Linked DNA regions of Homo sapiens: regions 2, 3 and 4 are each linked to region 1. Evidence: promoter capture Hi-C in human tissues and cell types (Jung and others, 2019). All regions are on one chromosome and are shown on one strand. Each heading gives the region's core, a stretch centred on a gene start or on the middle of the fragment in contact. The rest is flanking DNA. Distances are from core to core; before and after follow the strand shown.

Region 1 (2,765 bases), core at 134-2,633:
ATGCAGGGTTGAGCCCGGCAGGGCCACTTCCCTTTGCCAGCCACCTGGTACTTTGTTGTGTTGAATTAACATTGATTGAGTTCTTGTCTGCCGGTCACTGTTCTAGGCACTGGGGATTAGGGACTCAGTGATCAAAAAATAAATCCTGCCCTGATATTCTCATGAGGAGGACAGAAACTTAGTTAAACATACAGAATGTTGGAAGATGAAAAGTGTGATGAAGAAAACAGTGAAGTGGCTTGAGAGGGACAGGCCTGGGGGGCTGGGAAGGAGGCGGCGAGGGGTTGCAATGTTAATAACGTGGTCAGGGAAGGCCTCACAGAGACGGTGACCTTTGTGTAAAGACCAGAAGGGAGTGGGGGAGTGAGACGTGCAGGTCTCTAGGGAGGGGCCCAGGTGGGAACAGCAAGTGCCAAGGTCCTGTGGCGGCCAGGTGCCTGGGCCAGCGAGGGTCCCAGGTTCTGGAGTGGAGCAGGGTGAGTAGCAGGAGATGGGGTGGGAGTAACTTGGGAGCCAGCTCACGCAGGGCCTTGTGGGCTGCTGTGTGCGTTTTGGCTTTTGTTCTGAAGAAAATGGGAGCCAGTGCAGGCTCTGAGTGGAGGAGGGAGGAGGTGTGAGTGAGCTTGTGCGAAACAAGATGGAGGTGGTGGCTGGAGAAGGCCCTCTGTCTGTCCACTGGTCAGGTGCTGGGAGAGAGGCAGCTCCAGAGACTGCGGAGTGAGGTCGGGTATGGGCTGGGGCACAGCTGGACAGGTGCCCTCAGGGGACCTCCTGTGAACTAGATGAGGAACAGAGACCTGGGTTCTGCCAGCTCTGCGGCTGAGTTGCTGGATCGTTTTTGCTCATTCTGTGCCTTTGTGCCTTATGTCTTCAGCTATAAACTGGGAACGACAGTCCCAGTGCTGTTGTGAAGACCTCAGGAACTGAGCGAACAACTGTGGGAGCCCCAGAGGTTAAGAGGTTATCACGGAAGGCTTCCTGGAGGAGGGAACCCTTAAGCTTTGAAGTCCAGATAGAACTCAGCCTAGTGGAGGGAATGTGGGTGAGGCTGGTGGAATATGGGAGAGCATCCCGGAGGAAACCTGTGAGCAAAAGCTGGGGGCTGGGTGAAGCAGGACACCAAAGTAATGGGTGTTGAATGGGCCGAGCTGACAGCTCTCTGGGGGAGTGGACGGTGCTGGAGGACACTCCCTTCCACCGGGCACGGAGGGTTTGTTGTGACTTCCTCCCACCGCAGCAGCTGGCAGAGCCGGGGCTGCCCTTTCTGCTGGTGCCTCCTTTCAGCCGCCTCTGTCTGGGGTTCCCTTCGTCTGGCCCCGCCCCTCGGGCTAAGCGGGGCGGGGCCAGGCGGTCCCGGAGGCTGCGGCAGGCCGGACAGCGGGAGCAGGTGGAGGACTGGCGGCGGTCGAGATCGTGCTGCCATGGCTCAGCCTCTGGGTCCAGAGCCTCAGCTCCTACCTCTTCCCTCCTTGCCAGCCCCTGATGCCTGCCAGACTTTTGCCTCTGCTGGAGCCCCTGCCTGACCAGCTTCCCCTCCCTGTCTGGTTGGGATTTGGGGGCTGAGCTGTCTGGGGTCCCAGGGCCAACCAATGCAGTGCCGGCTCCCGCGGGGCCTGGCTGGAGCCCTCCTCACCCTCCTGTGCATGGGGCTCCTGTGTCTGCGGTACCACTTGAACCTGTCCCCGCAGCGGGTACAAGGGACCCCCGAGCTGAGCCAGCCGAACCCGGGGCCCCCTAAGCTACAGCTACACGATGTCTTCATTGCAGTGAAGACGACCCGGGCTTTCCACCGCTTGCGCCTGGAGCTGCTGCTTGACACGTGGGTTTCCAGGACCAGGGAACAGGTGACAAGTGGGTGACATTGGGCCCTGGGGGTGGCCCCTGGCCTAAGGGGTTCTCAGAGGCCTTTCTACTGGGCTGGGGTCCCTGACTGCCTCATGGGAGAAGCTGCTCAATACCTGCCTAATCAGGGATCCTCTTCCTCTCTCCTTCTTCCGGGCTTTAGGGGCTGCCTGCGGCCCTGCCCGTGCCCTGTACTGGTCCTGACTCCAGGTGCACCCAGGTCCTACCGCTCCACCACTTTTGGGGGCCAGGCTGGGCCCCTGCTCCAGGCTCCCGGGTCCCTCCTGGGGGTTCTTCTATTCCTAGCCGCTCCCGTGGGGGCTTCGCTCCTAGCCACCCAGGCCCAGCCTGGCATCAGGGGTAATGGTGGGTGTTGGGCAGCTGGGGTGGAGGCCTCCAAGAGGTCCTGACCCAGACCCGTGCCCAGGCCAGGCTGTCCCACCCAGGCCCTAGGTGCTGTCCTGCCCGGGCTCTGAGGGTGGAGGACGGGAGGAGAATGGTGGGGTCTGTTCTTGGGGGAGGCATCCCTTCGGCCTTCCCGATAGCCCCTGCCGCTGTGTCTCTGCTGCCCCGGGTGTGCCGAGGCCGCCATGTCTGGCCTCCTGTGTTGGCTTCCTGCGGACTGCTTCCGAGGGAGGGAAGGAGAGCGCATGCCACGAGGGTGGCGGCTGAGGCAGTGGTGGGCCGGAGGTTGGGGAGGCCTGCCTGGCACGTGGGATTGTGTGTGTGTGTGTGTGTGTGCTCACACGCACGGAGCTGGAGTGTGCTAGATGTGTGTGACAAGAGGCATGTCTGTCACATGGCTGTGCGGCTCCGGCGAGCCAAGTCCCTTCCAGCCCTTTCCCTCCTCGCATCCAGTATCTTCCTTAAGCAAAGTTAGTGATGTCGGTGTTAGGGACCGTTGATGGGGGAGGTGGAGAATG
Region 2 (2,765 bases), core at 127-2,626, 320 kb before region 1:
AATTCTAAAGCCCAGAGTGAACACAGCTGACCTTAGGAGCAAACAGCCAGAGGGGAAAGTTCACACAGCCTGGGAAAGGCAAAAACAGGATGAGAACTTGGGTCTCCTAATTTCCCATCTTTTGACCGGCTCTAAGCTTCCCCTGAGGGAGAGAAGGGATTACCTGGGACCTCTGTTTTACAAATGAGTGCAACAGCACCAAGGGTTCTATGCCTATTTCCTGGGCAGAAGGCAGCTTTGGGAGCTTGTTGATGATTACCACTCACCTGAGGCCTGACACGAATAAGTCAGGTGTAACCACTGGTTAGAGTGAAATGAGGGAGGGCTGGGAGTGGTGGCTCACGCCTGTAATCCCAACACTTTGGGAGGCTGAGGCGGGAGGATCACTTGAGGTCAGGAGTTCGAGACCAGCCTGGCCAACATGGTGAAACCCAGTCTCCACTAAAAATACAAAAATTAGCCGGGTGTGCTGGCACGTGCCTGTAGTCCCAGCTACTTGGGAGGCTGAGGCATGAAAATCGCTTGAACCCGGGAGGCAGAGGTTGCAGTGAACCGAGATCTCGCCACTGCACTCCAGCCTGGGCGACAGAGCAAGACGAGACTCCATCTCAGAAAAAAAAAAGGAAAGAAAGAAATGAGGGAGACCTGGCAGGGCCAACTCATCATGTGATTTCTGTGGCAGCCCTGGGACCCCTTGCTTGCTATGAGTTTACCCAGCAAGCTGTCCTCTCTGGCCAGTCAGGCAATGTTCCAGCTCCAATATTCCAGCGCTGCCTGCAGCTAGCTGGGGGCTTTTGGGCAAGCCATTTCACATCTGTGGATTTCAGCCTCTTCGTTTGTAAAGTGGAATTAGTCATTCCTGCGTCTAGAAGTTAGCAGGAGTTCACGTGCAGCAACAATTGGTAGAGACCTTCACAAAGGAGCCGCTCAAGAAATGCGGGTTTTCTTGCTGGGCAAATCGCCTCCCTCCGTCAAAAGGGTTTAACCAGGCAAGAGTCAATATTAGGAAGCCATAAAGTCGCCCTGAGAGATGCGAAGGGGAACAGTAGCTAAGAGTGTAGGAGCCGCCCACCCCCACCTCCAGGACCTCCATTCCAGCGCAAGCTCGGGAAAGGTCTTGGAACGACTCCCGGAACGGAGCGTTACCTCCGGAGACGCCGTCCACGCGGATGTGCGGCCCCTGACGGGACGTGATGACCCGCTCACTCTTCCAAGTGCCAGCTCCGCGGATGCCTTCCAGCTCCCCCTCCAGAATGCCACGCAGCTGGGCCAGCGCTGACTGTGCGCGGCGGCCGCGGGGCACCCAGAAGAGTGCGGCGCGCCAGGCGTTCCCAGGCCACATCGCTCCTACCTCGCCCGAGCGCGCCTGCCTGCCTGGGAGCCGTGCGCATCGCGGACGCAGCCTGGTCGCGTGGCCGGGGGCCGGGCTCCAGCAGCCAATCGGAGCTAGGGGGGCTCGCTTAAAAAGGCGGGGAGGCGGGCCTAGGACGGGTGGGCGGGGCCTGGCGGGATCCGCCAGGGACCGAGAGGCTTGACTTGTAAGTTGAGACTGCCGAAGTCCGGATGGCAGAGGGGAGGGAAGGGGGCGGAGGAAGTCGCGTCAGGGCCAAGCCCACCAGACTCCCCACCGCATTCCCACGTACTCACCTCTCGGCCGGAAATGGGGTACCCTCTGGACCCCAAAGGCAGAAGCCTAGAAGCCGGCTAAGGCACGTTCCGCAGCCTCCGGGACTAAGGATTCCTGGCTTCTGTCCAGCTCCTGAACCCTCCCCCGCCATTCTCAGGTGCAAACGCCCCAGATGTCCCCACTGCCTGCCCGCCTAACCGCTCCGCATTCATTCTCCAGTCTTCAAAGTGAGGAAAAATACACCGCTCAGTTTCTCCCTTTTCCAATTTATTTTAAAGTTTTAAAATTACAAAGACAGCAAAATTTTCCCGGCACAAGTAACACTTGTTTAAAAAAGGGGGTGGGGGGGGGACGCGCAAGTGCGCGATTTTTCTATTTTATTAAAAATAAGAGAAAGACAACTGTACAGGTTTTTTCTCCCAGCTCCCGGGTGTGAAACTAAGTACTAGCCCTAGATATGTATATATACACAAACACACACATGCACACAGATCTAGCTCTGTAAAACTACTTAGCAAATCCCAAATCGACTGCAGTAAGTCTTACTATCCACTGCCCGCCCACTCCCCCTCCCCCTCCCGCAGCTACAACTACTTATAATAAAGGACTCAAAAAGAGATCGGGAGGTTTTAAGTGGCCGCAGCCCCACCAAACCAAGCAAAGACACCTCTTGTACAGGAGGAACAAAAATCCAGAGGAAAAGAAAAGTCTTCCTAGGACACAATCCATCGATTGCGTGGAAAAACCTAAGTTTCAACAGGGCACACTGAGGCACTTGGCTGACTCCCCACCCTTCCCCTGAAGTTTTCACTCCGGTTTAACAAGAGAATTTGCTGAAGCCACAAAGATCCCCCAATGGCTACATCCTAGCTGACTGGGAGAAACTATGGCTTCTCCCATCCAGCTGTCACTTGGACCCCACTCCCCTTCCCTAAGAAAATAGGGAGGCCGAAAGCGCAAACTAACAAAAATGAGAAGGAAACTGGGTTTGGGCCCCCACTGCTCACCACTGGGAGGTGGAAGTCAGCCCGGTGGCGGTTTTTTTCCCCCTCCTTCCTTTGCCGGCTGGCTGCTCCCTACCACCTCTCTCCTGCTGGCCAAAGGTTCTGAAACTCTCACAACGGGTGCCCAACTCAAA
Region 3 (2,765 bases), core at 1-2,500, 330 kb after region 1:
TATTTTTTTTAGACGGAGTCTTGCTCAGTCACCCAGGCTCGAGTGCGGTTGCGCAATCTTGGCTCACTGCAACCTCTGCCTCCCGGGTTCAAGTGATTCTTCTGCCTCAGCCTCCTGAATAGCTGGGACTACGGGGTGCCCACCACCACGCCCGGCTAATTTTTTTTTAATTTTTATTTTTGGTAGAGACGTGGTTTTGCCATGTTGGCCAGGCTGGTCTCGATCTCCTGACCTCGTGATCCGCCCGCCTCAGCCTGCCAAAGTGCTGGGATTACAGACATAAGCCACCGCGCCCAGCCCTCCCCTTCCTATCTTGGCATAGCTACGTGGCATTCCACTGGATGGAAGTTCCCTAATTTGCTCATCACCTGTCCCCTATGGATGCGCATTTTGTTGGCCTCGGGTCCCGTGACTGCAGGAGTTACTTTGTACACACGTGTTCAACATGGGTCACTCTGTTGATGAGTTTTAGGTGTGGAATTGCTGGGTCATGTGTCAGAGATGTTGGTAGATGTCAGATTGCCTTCCAGGGAGATGCTTGAAGCCCACGCCAGCAGGGTGACTCGCCTTTTCAACCTGCCTTTGATGGCAAAGCTTTTGAAACTTCAAATATGCTATCCTGGTGTTTTTAATGTGTATTCTCAGGACTCTTCAGGGTATTAGGGACTTAGCACTTTTGATTCTTTCTCTTTTCCTTTTTTCCTTCCTTCCCCTCATATTGACACTGTCCGTATGTCAGGTAATTTTCTGGGTTCTGGAGTGGTGTGGATGAATCCCACACTGTTCCTGTTGTCCAAGAGCTCCTGGTGTAGACTCATAAGCAAGGCTCTGACATGAGATATGGTAACTGGCTTGTGCCCAGAATCTGCCTTGGCCAGAATTGGAGATCAGGGAAGGACTGGTTTTAAATCGGGGAGCTGATTAGTCTGAGTAAGTAGGGTGGGAATATGGTGACCAACTTTGTCCTAGGAATATCACTGTAAATCTTATGTTCTGGAAACCCCCCTCAGTCCCAGGCACAGTGGGACAGCTGGTCACCTTGGCGCGATCCTGGTAAGGAATGGCATGGTTTGCACAAGATAGGAGCTGCTCAGGGCGCTGGTGCTGGTGTGGCTATGAAGCAGGCAGCTCCCGGATGAACAGGGAAGAACGTGGGGCTTCAGGTCTGGAGCCTGGGGGGCTGGCGTGGAGGTGGCTGCTGTGGCAAAGCAGAAGTAAGGGTGATGGCTTGGAAGGAGGGGGTGAGGGAGGGAAGGAGTCAGGGAGAATGGCCACAGTCTGTCTTGGGGACTGGTGGGTGGGGCGCCTCCAGTGAAGAGCAGGTGTCAGCAGAGGGGCATGCTCGGAGGACAGCCCTCAGGAAGTCGGCCGCTAGCCTGCTCTTTCTCCTTGTTCTGCTCTGGCCCCTCTGTGGGCCCCTGCAGCTTTGTGATCCTCATTTGTCATGAGGGGTACCCCACAGTCTGATGGGGACTGGGCGGAGGGTCAGACACCAAATTATGTATACCATAGTCCTCCTGACCAGGGACCAGGACTCAAAACCAGGTCACTGGTGAGGCCTGGCACTGTGGGGGCAGGACTTTTTTTCCAGCTGGGGACTCGGCTACCTGCTGACTTTCCAGAAGACAGGTCACAGCACCGAGCAGGGGTGGGCGGAACACAAGGACTTGAGGGTGGGTGACAGTGTCAGCTGGCTGAGCCAGGGAGGGCAGGAAGGGAGGTGGCCCTGGAGATACTGGAGGTCTTCACAATGGCAGAGGACAGGCGGTGGCAGAGACAGTGAATGGCACCCCCAAACCTGCTCTCCCCTGCCCGTGTGCCCTCTACTTATAGCTGGCTACATCTCCCAGCCTCCTCTGCAGCTTGGTTGGCTATGTGACTCAGGCGTAGCCAATGGGATGTACATTAGAAGTGGCTACGGCAGCTTTGGGGAAGGGTCCTTAACAGGCAGAGGCAAGCCCTCCCTCTCTCCTTCCTTTCCCTTCCATCTGCAGGAACGCAGAGGTGATGGGTGGAGCTTGAATAGCTCTCTTGGTCTATGAGGAGATGGGAGAAGGATATTGAAGAGACCCTAGTAGCAAGCCAGATTTAGCTCAGGATCCTGACATCATAAAGCCACCCCACCTAGCCTGGGTGGCCTCCCTTTGGACTTCTTTTATGTAAGAGAGAAATAAAGCCCTCTCTTATTTTAGGTCACTGTTTTCTTCTTCTGTTCTCTTTGGACACACGCAGCTGAACTTCATCCTAACTGGGACACTGTTGTACAGTGGAGGCGGTGATGGCAGCACGCGGGTGAGCTGAGGTGGAAGTTCAAGGGGTCTTGGTTAACACAGGTCAGAATGATGGCAGGGTGCAAGTGCAGGCCTGGGTGTGGGACTGGTATGGAGCAGTTCAGAGGGAACAGGAGGCTGGAGGCTACAGTGTGGACCCTGACATCTCCTGGGAGGCGGAGTGGAGAGGGAGGCTGAGCGCAAGGGCCAAGCACTCCAGTGAGCAGAGGGAGGACGGGTAGGGCGTTTGGCAGATACCAGGACTGAGGAGGATGCAGTCTGGCTTGGCCCCAAAAAAGACAGCCCAAGGACATCAGGGCTGGAAGACCCCAATATGCCCTTGTCCCATGGCCCCTGTGAAAGAGGGGTCTGGGTCCAGTGGTGGGAGGGCTGTGGGACTGGGTGCATGGAAACAGAGGGTATGAGGCGGTTTGTTCCCAGTGGGACCCATGAAGATGCAGCGCAGAGGGTCAGGTGGGGATGTGGAAGACGTAA
Region 4 (2,765 bases), core at 128-2,627, 310 kb after region 1:
GTGCTCCCTGCCCACAAAGAAGCGAGCCCCCAGGTCACTCACGCAGCTGGCGCGCCTTGGAGCTAGTGGCACCAGCATAGAGTCAGCCGTGTCACTCTTTGGTTGTGACCTCGGGCAAGTCCCCATATCTCTGCGCCTCGGTTTCCTGTCTGTAAAATGGGGACAATGGTAATCTACCTCATGCGGTGGACATAAGGATCAGATGCCAGGTTGCTTGATGAGTGCCGCGTTCATGCTCAGCATCTGCTGAGCGCCAACTGTGTGGCGCAGAGCTGAGCACCTGTGCCGTTTATGCTCCAGTGAGGCACACGCAAGCCCCCCCACCTCCCGCCCCGGGGACCCTGTCGCATGTTTTGCGTTTAATTATGATGAGAGAACTGTTGGATCTTCTCTGTGGGAAAACACACACTACTACATTGTACAGTGGAGCATCTTGATGGATCTGGCTTTCTTTTTTTTTTGAGATGGAGTCTCTCTGTCACCCAGGTTGGAGTACAGTGGCGCAATCTTGGCTCTCTGCAACCGCTACCTCCCAGGTTCAAGTGATTCTCTTGCCTCAGCCTCCCGAGTAGCTGGGATTACAGGCGCCCACCACCACGCCCAGCTAATTTTTGTATTTTTAGTAGAGATGGGGGTTTCACCATGTTGGCCAGGCTGGTCTTGAACTCCTGACCTTGTGATCTGCCCACCTCGGCCTCACAAAGTGCCGGGATTACAGGCGTGAGCCACCGTGCCCGGCCTGGCTTTCTAATATGTCGTCAAGTTTGGACTCTCTAGGCTAGCCTGGTGGCTACTCACATAAGTATATTTAAAGTGACCGACGCTGATTTCCCAACAGACTTGACCGGGCATCCTGCTCTATCTGTGTTGTCCCTGGTGTGTTGCATGGCTTTTGGGCACCAGGTGGAAGAAGCATGCTATCGAGAACTGACCATACACCTGTGCCAGGATTCAGCCCAGCCCAGCAGCCCACCTTGCAGGGGCAGACAGGTCTCCGTTTCCTCGGAGGTCCCCTGACACTGAAGGGAGGCTTCCCACTGCACCTCAGGGTCATACAGCTCTTGCCAAAGAGGCTCCTCCCATGTCAGAGGCTACCCCGGGGAGCGATCTCCAGCGTGTTTCTGGGCCAGGCTCTATTTGTACACAATCGGCCTCACCAGCCTTGGGACAAAGGCTGTCCTGAGTGCCAGCCAGGAGCCTTTTGTCGTGTACAGCACAAGGATGAGCCATTTGCTGATCGCTGAGGCAGCAAAGCTTTGAAACTTCTTGCCAAGTGCCTGCAGGAGGATTGAAGCTTATCCTTTGTAAACTGAAGCCAAGTCCCCCAGACAGTTCCAGGCCACATTAGTTCAGGGAACAGAGGCCGGCTGTCTTTGTGTCATCCCATCTGACCCACTGCACACATTCCTCCACCCAGGGCTCAGATGTGGCCTCTGGACTGTCTAGGCCAGGTTTTTTTGCGCTAGGTCTGGGTTTCTGACTCAATGGCACCCGGATGGGTGCTAAGAGCCACTAGATCTTTGTGACAAGCTTCTCCCAATGGGCACGTTCTTGGCGGGGGTTGGTCAAAGGTCCTGGGAAACTGGAGGCCCCCAATCCTGCTGCCAGGTCTGTGGGGCACAGCGTCCCCCAGGAGATCTGCCATGCTTAGTACTGATGACCTCAGCAAGCTGGCTGAATGCCCATGTAATCACCTCTGGGGCAATCCCTTTAAGTTACATATTTTGAAAACGTTTTCCGCCTGAAACGTTAGGCAATGAGGAAGGGGAAGGAAAGGGTGGTCAAGAGGGGAAGCAGCCGTGGGAAATGAAAAATACCCCTGACAAGGAGTGTACCCCAGACAGGGCGACCTCACCCCCACCTTGCCATCGTTTTGTTGAGTGGCCCGGGGCAAGTGCAGGGAAGATTAAGGGGGAAAGGGTGATTAGATGGGAGCCTGAGTTAAAATCAGGGGCAGAGCTGGTGCAGGGATTTTAGCTTGATGGTGTCCCTGGTGACCTGCTGTCTGGATAGATGGGCTGGATCCATTTCATGGGCTAGGTTAGGTTGTGTCTGGAAGTGTTCAGCCTTCCTGGGGAGATGAGCGCAGGAGCTCCTCTGCCACATGGGAGTGTGGGGAAGGGAGTAGATAATTCTTATGTGGCGATCTGGGAAGGCTTCTTAGTGGAGGGGACATGTGGGAAGGGCCTTGGAGGGTGAATAGGAGTCTCAAAGGCACTTGACATGGGGCAAGGAGCTGATGAGAGGAAAGGGTTGCAGGCGGACCAATGTAGTCTATGCTCTGGGCAGTGGGAGAGACCAGTAGGTTGGATAGATGTCTGGAAAGGAGGCAAGGAGAGCAGAATGGGGTTTGAGACAGGAAAGGCCTGGAATGTCAGGCTAAGTCTAGGATTGACCTCTTTCTTAGGTGCTGGGGTGCCTTTAAGAGGCAGATCACTCTGCAGCCAGGTGGAGCACAGGCTGCAGAGGGTGAAGCTGGAGGCAGTGAGGGGGCCTGTGCCATGGTCCAGGGGAGGACATAGAACGCCTAGAAACTGGGTGAATCATGATGTCATCCTGGAGGGGGAGGCATGTCCCCAATTGACTTTGAAGTTGGTGAGAGATTCAACAGCAGAGAGGAGGCAGGAGGGCAGCTGGGGGTTGTTGGGGGGACGGGGTCCAGCTTGGATTAAGGGTCTACCAGGGTGTTTCTCCCACAAGGCTTTCGTTAGCCAGTGGGAAGCCAGCAGGCCGGGGTGCCAGGAGGTGGGCTCCTGTGGCAGCTC

The links. The method cuts DNA at HindIII sites, captures the fragments that hold promoters and counts their contacts. A contact is called where the count stands out against the background at its distance.
Region 2: the fragment with the promoter of GCAT here is called in contact with the fragment with the promoter of MFNG in region 1 in 2 of the 25 tissues and cell types used here (aorta and thymus).
Region 3: a fragment that was not itself captured here is called in contact with the fragment with the promoter of MFNG in region 1 in 4 of the 25 tissues and cell types used here (dorsolateral prefrontal cortex, lymphoblastoid cells, mesenchymal stem cells and 1 more).
Region 4: a contact is called between a fragment that was not itself captured here and the fragment with the promoter of MFNG in region 1, in 2 of the 25 tissues and cell types used here (lymphoblastoid cells and mesendoderm cells).

What each region holds. Positions count from the first base shown.
Region 1 is chr22:37,485,002-37,487,766 of GRCh38, reverse strand. MFNG (MFNG O-fucosylpeptide 3-beta-N-acetylglucosaminyltransferase) reads left to right here and starts at 1,383. Exons shown (of 8, transcript NM_002405.4): 1 at 1,383-1,844. The coding sequence starts at 1,590. RefSeq lists enhancers at 1-490, 491-1,002, 1,003-1,512, 1,989-2,038, 2,439-2,498 and a silencer at 1,289-1,418. The HindIII fragment of the contact is 15,221 bases long and covers 1-2,765 here.
Region 2 is chr22:37,806,545-37,809,309 of GRCh38, reverse strand. GCAT (glycine C-acetyltransferase) reads right to left here and starts at 1,376. Exons shown (of 9, transcript NM_014291.4): 1 at 1,147-1,376. The coding sequence starts at 1,342. H1-0 (H1.0 linker histone) reads right to left here. Exons shown (of 1, transcript NM_005318.4): 1 at 1,878-2,765. RefSeq lists a silencer at 1,272-1,561. The HindIII fragment of the contact is 28,064 bases long and covers 1-2,765 here.
Region 3 is chr22:37,155,802-37,158,566 of GRCh38, reverse strand. It overlaps a transcript of IL2RB not described here. Among named protein-coding and RNA genes, the nearest start is that of IL2RB, 7.3 kb to the right of the region's middle. The HindIII fragment of the contact is 5,288 bases long and covers 1-2,765 here.
Region 4 is chr22:37,177,356-37,180,120 of GRCh38, reverse strand. The region is part of intron 1 of IL2RB-AS1 (IL2RB and C1QTNF6 antisense RNA 1); the gene reads right to left. Among named protein-coding and RNA genes, the nearest start is that of C1QTNF6, 9.5 kb to the left of the region's middle. RefSeq lists an enhancer at 1-495. The HindIII fragment of the contact is 3,359 bases long and covers 1-2,765 here.